2 separate regions of the Homo sapiens genome follow, and region 1 is linked to region 2. The links are contacts of gene promoters, found by promoter capture Hi-C in human tissues and cell types (Jung and others, 2019). All regions are on one chromosome and are shown on one strand. The core of a region is centred on a gene start or on the middle of the fragment in contact, and the rest is flanking DNA. Distances in the headings are between cores, read along the strand shown.

What was found. The method cuts DNA at HindIII sites, captures the fragments that hold promoters and counts their contacts. A contact is called where the count stands out against the background at its distance.
Region 1: a fragment that was not itself captured here is called in contact with the fragment with the promoter of CLCN7 in region 2 in 1 of the 25 tissues and cell types used here (pancreas).

The regions. Positions count from the first base shown.
Region 1 is chr16:1,517,680-1,520,379 of GRCh38, reverse strand. It overlaps IFT140 (intraflagellar transport 140), which reads left to right. Exons shown (of 31, transcript NM_014714.4): 28 at 37-249; 29 at 333-499; 30 at 2,023-2,164. Among named protein-coding and RNA genes, the nearest start is that of TMEM204, 15 kb to the left of the region's middle. The HindIII fragment of the contact is 6,941 bases long and covers 1-2,700 here.
Region 2 is chr16:1,473,682-1,476,381 of GRCh38, reverse strand. It overlaps CLCN7 (chloride voltage-gated channel 7), which reads left to right and starts at 1,354. Exons shown (of 25, transcript NM_001287.6): 1 at 1,354-1,548. The coding sequence starts at 1,408. RefSeq lists silencers at 932-1,281, 1,402-1,611 and an enhancer at 851-1,394. The HindIII fragment of the contact is 17,994 bases long and covers 1-2,700 here.

The DNA of each region.
Region 1 (2,700 bases), core at 1-2,500, 44 kb before region 2:
CCCTGCTTGCCTGAGCCCCGCTGTCTCTCTGCCTAGGCCATGAGGGCGCTGCTCAAATCCGGAGACACGGAGAAAATCACGTTCTTCGCGAGCGTGTCCAGGCAGAAGGAAATCTACATCATGGCTGCTAACTACCTGCAGTCCCTGGACTGGCGGAAGGAGCCGGAGATCATGAAGAACATCATCGGCTTCTACACCAAGGGGCGGGCCCTGGACCTCCTGGCTGGCTTTTATGACGCTTGTGCCCAGGTGCAGGCCCTCCCTGGCATGCCAGCGGGGCCCCGGGGAGGGCTGTGGAGCCCGGCAGGTCTTGACGGGTTTCATCTGTACAGGTGGAGATTGATGAATACCAGAACTACGACAAAGCCCACGGGGCGCTGACCGAGGCCTACAAGTGCCTGGCCAAGGCCAAGGCCAAGAGCCCCCTGGACCAGGAGACCAGGCTGGCGCAGCTGCAGAGCAGGATGGCACTGGTGAAGAGGTTCATCCAGGCCCGCAGGTGTGCCCCCGGGGCCAGCGGGGACAGGCCAGGGCAGATGTGACTACAGGGCCGGGGCTGACCACGAGAAACCCCAGCCAGCAAAAGGGCAGGACAGCAGATGGGAGCTCACTTGGGACAGCACTACTGCTGAAGACACACCCCACCTCCTCCTGGGAGCCCTCAGAGCCCGGGCACAGCCTTGGGAAGGTGTTCTGGAAACACCAGAGACGCTGAGAGAGAAACCTGGTGGGGGAGTGGGAGGAGGAGGCAGATGTGGAGCAGGAGAGGGTGTGTCTGGGGAGCCACAGACCTGCTGAGGGTGTGCAGGGGCCGGGCAGGGGAGTCCTGAGTGAGTGCCGCTGTGTGACCTGGGGTTGGGGGACCATGGTGACCAGAGGGCTCATGCCTCTCCACAGGTCAACTGCCACCAGCTCCAAGCTTGTGGAGAGGAGACCCAGGCAGCCAGCCGATGGTCTCGGTTTTCAGGAGAGGCCAAGATGCTAAGTTTATTTGAACACCTCCCCATCTTTATTATGGGCAGGTGACTCAGCTTTTCAGAGAGCTGCTGTGTGGCCACCACGGTGGGCACTCGCCTGTGCGCTTCAGGGCCCAGCTTCTGTCTCAGCTGGCAGGGCTGTTTTCCTTATCGGAGAACCTTTTCCAAAACAAGAGTTCCAGAAGTCCTTTGAACAAGGTCGTACAAAGCGGTGCCCCTTGGAAGGGCACGGTCCACCTGCACGTGTCGATTCTGGGGTATCAGCGTCTCACAGATGTCTGCTGAGCTGAGGCCACAGGGCAGGAGCGGAGGAGAATCGATAGCAGCTGGTCATCAGGGATAGCACAGGACGTGGGTGGAGGGGAGACGACGTGTGAGGGCCAGGGTGGGCAACCTTCTATGGGCCAGGGGTCAGAGGGCAGGCCAGGCGCCTGTCTGGAATGGCCGAGTCAGTGGGTGGCCAGATGGGCCCTGGACCCTCCTGACATGGGAGCCTGAGCTCCACACGGCTCCAGTCACCTGCCCTGGACCATGTTGTGTTCCAGCAGGCTCACCTCCCTGGTGTCACCCCAGCTCACAGGCCACACACCCTGCTCTGCCACAGACCCTCACGCCAGGTCACACACGCAGCCTGTGTGCGGGCAGCCTCTCTGCTTGGAGGGTTCTTCCCAGCGGCCTTGGGCAAGGGGTGCCGTGCGCCTCTCCGTGTACCCTGTCCACATGCACCACATCCCCTCTGGGTCACGCTTTGTGCAGAGGTTTCTAGCCCCCTCTGGACTGTTCCATAGAGCAGGAACTAGGGGTCGGAAGTCTTTGGTCTTCAGTCCAAGCATAGGACCCAGCATTCAAGTGATCAGTAAGAATGTTACATGGATGAGTTAATTTATGAATGAACAAATTAAGGAATTAATGAATTTAACTTCATAGAAAGTTTCCTCCTGCCATTCCGGAGAGCTCCTCTTACAGGCCAAGAGTCTCCTCTGACCTCTGATAGCAGTAGGTGTTCAGGGCTTCGGGGCCCAGGCCTCATCTCTGCTCTCGGCAGGACGTACACAGAGGACCCCAAGGAGTCCATCAAGCAGTGTGAGCTGCTCCTGGAGGAACCAGACCTGGACAGCACCATCCGCATCGGGGACGTCTATGGCTTCCTGGTGGAGCACTACGTGCGGAAGGAGGAATACCAGACGGTGAGGCCTGAGTGCTGCTCACTAGCAGCATCCCGCCACACAAGGCTCCTGAAACGAAGGCTTAACGGCTCAAACTGAGGCTGTGTGTGGCGGCTCACTCCTGTAATCCCAGCACTTTGGGAGGCTGAGGCAGGAGAATGACTTGAGCCCAGGAGTTCAAGAGCAGCCTGGGCGACATGGTGAAACCCCATCTCTACAAAAAGGGGAAAAATTAGCCAGGCATGGTGGCTCACACCTGGGGTCCCAGCTGCTTGGGAGGCTGAGGTGGGAGGATCCCTTGAGCCCAGGAGGTTGAGGCTGCAGTGAGATCTGATGGCGCCACTGCACTCCAGCCTGGGTGACAGAGCGAGACCCTGTCTCAAAAGAAAAAAAAAATCTGTCGGTAGCAAAAAGTAACAGTCTCACGCTGTTACTGGCTGTTACTAGCAGTGTCGCAGGAAAGCGACAGACTTACTTTATTTGTGAAGAAATGTCTGCATGTACCCGAGTCTGAATAACCACGATTTCTTTTTCAGGGATTTTCACAAAAAAAGAAA
Region 2 (2,700 bases), core at 105-2,604:
CCGTGACTCACGCCTGTAATCTCAGCACTTTGGGAGGCCGAGGCGGGTGGATCACGAGGTCAGGAGATCGAGACCATCCTGGCTAACACAGTGAAACCCCATCTGTACTAAAAATACAAAAAATTAGCCGGCCATGGTGACGGGCGCCTGTAGTCCCGGCTACTCGGGAGGCTGAGGCATGAACCCGGGAGGCAGTGAGCCGAGATTGGGCCACTGCACTCCAACCTGGGCGACAGAGTGAGACTCCGTCTCAATAATAAAAATATCGACCTTTTAAAAGGAAGAGGATGAGGCACAAAATATAAAGAGTTTACTCTAGAGGCTAACGTGGAAGGATCACTTGAGGTCAGAAGTTTGAGAACAGCCTGGGCAACACACTGTGAGCTCCACAGCAAAAATTAGCCGGGTGTGGTGGTGCAGGCCTGTGGTCCCTGTTACTCCAGAGGCTGAGGCGGGAGGATGGCTTGAGTCCAGGAGGTCAAGGCTGCACTGAGCTGTGACCGCACCACCGCACTCCAGCCTGGGCGACAGAAGGAGACCCTGTCTCAAAATAAATAAATAAATGACCCAGAAGGTGGGGACAGGGTGGGGGCTGATGTAAAGCTGTCAAGAATTCTCTTTGGTTTATGGAAATACCATTGATTAGTGATGGGCTGTGCCCTGGTGCGGGTACAGGGTCCGGGCGGCTATTTGGCTAATTCACAGCTATCTGCGTAGTAGCCGGCAGTTTCCAGAGGCGACCCTCCTGTACTGTCTCTGGGGCCTGATCGTTGAAGAGGACTCGCCTTCTGTTCTTTTCTCATTAGGCGGGAGGACCCTCTGGGGCTGCCTGGAGGAAGCCTCCACTCCGACCCTCGCCCGAGTGCCTACTGCGAGGGCGGATGCATGCTTCGGGACTTCTAATTTCATCCTTCACGTCTTTAGCCGCCGCCTATGGCAAGGAAAGGCCTGCCCTCGCCCCTGCCTCCCTCCTCCCTTCCCCACCGCGGCTCCGTCACGATCGGCGCGGGCGACCGGGCCTGGGGGAGCCCCTCCAGCCGGCTCCTGCCCTCAGGCCCCGGGCGCTTCCCTCGCCCCGACTCCCGGGCCCGAGGTCCCGGGGGCGGCCATTCGCCTCCCAAGCACTCGGCGCTCAGCCCAACGGGGCCGCCTTTGCAGTCGCGTGGGCAGAACGGGGTCCTCAGGGCCGCGGCGATTCTCTAGGGCGGGCGGCGCCACGACCCGCCGGGAGCGCGGCTCCCAGGAGCCCCCGCGCGACCGGGCCTCGGTGGTTGCCGTTGCAGGTCACATGGTCGCCGTCGCTCATCACGTGGCCCCGTCGCGCGTCACGTGGCCGCCGGCGCGGGTCACGAGAACAAACACGGGGGCAGCCGGCGCTTCCCGGCCGGTGTCGCTCCGCGGCGGGCCATGGCCAACGTCTCTAAGAAGGTGTCCTGGTCCGGCCGGGACCGGGACGACGAGGAGGCGGCGCCGCTGCTGCGGAGGACGGCGCGGCCCGGCGGGGGGACGCCGCTGCTGAACGGGGCTGGGCCTGGGGCTGCGCGCCAGGTGAGGCCGGGCAGGGCGCAGGCGGGGAAACTGAGCCCTCGTGCGCCCCGCAGCCCGCGCCCTCGTGAGCCTTCTGGCGGCGCCGCGTGTCTCGGTCCTGGAGGCGACCGAGGCGCGGTGGACTCGGGAACGCGCCCCGGGGCTCCTCGGCGGGGCCGGGCTGGCGGGGGCGCCTGGGGTCTGGAGTCTTCGGAGGCCGCGCCGGGCTCGGTGGCCGGGAGGGCTGCGTGGGCGAGGCGGAGCTCGCCAGACCCCGCGGAATGTGGGGCGCTGAGGGGCGCCGGGGCAGCCGTGGCGCACGTTCATTCCCTCCGGTGTCCCCCAGACTGGCCCTAAAGGGGTGCAAGTGGCTTTCTGTTCAGGTGACTTTTAAAAATTGTCATCCTACACGAGCAACTAATTTTGTTTGCGTTTTTGACCCCCTGGGAGATGGAAACAGTTAAGATTGCAGCCGGGTCACTGTCTTTCAGTGAGAATGACTGAGCGCCTTTATCTGCCATCTTTCTGTGTGGGGATCAGTCCCGACTTTCAGGTGATCTTGGGAGTGACGAGTATTTGTACTCAGTCTCCCTTCGCACCGAGTTGAATTTGCAATGTGCAGGCAAACACAATAAGCAGCAAGTCAGAGGTTGGAATGCGTTCCGCATGTCACCCTGCAGCGTGCGTCTGAGCAGTGTTAAGGTCTGGAGAACCGTTGCGGGTACATTTGTTTCCCTGTCTGTGTATTGTCTTAATATTTTTTTTTTTTTGAGACGGAGTTTCACTGTAGTTGCCCAGGCTGGAGTGCAATGGCGCGATCTCGGCTCACTGCAACCCCCACCTCCCGAGTTTAAGTGACTCTCCTGCCTCAGCCTCCTGAGTAGCTGGAATTACAGGCGTGCGCCACCGCGCCCGGCTAATTTTGTATTTTTAGTAGAGACGGGGTTCCTCCGTGTTGGTCAGGCTGGCCTCGAACTCCCGACCTCACGTGATCCCCCGCACCTCAGCCTCCCAAAGTGCTGGGATTACAGGCGTGAGCCACTGCGCCTGGCCGTATTGTGTTACTTTTGAGTTAATGGACCGTTTTGTTGATGGGTCTTAATCTGCTTTGCAGTTATTCTTTACATTTTCTCTTGTCTAGTCCTTTAAACACTTGTCTTGTGCTTAAAGATT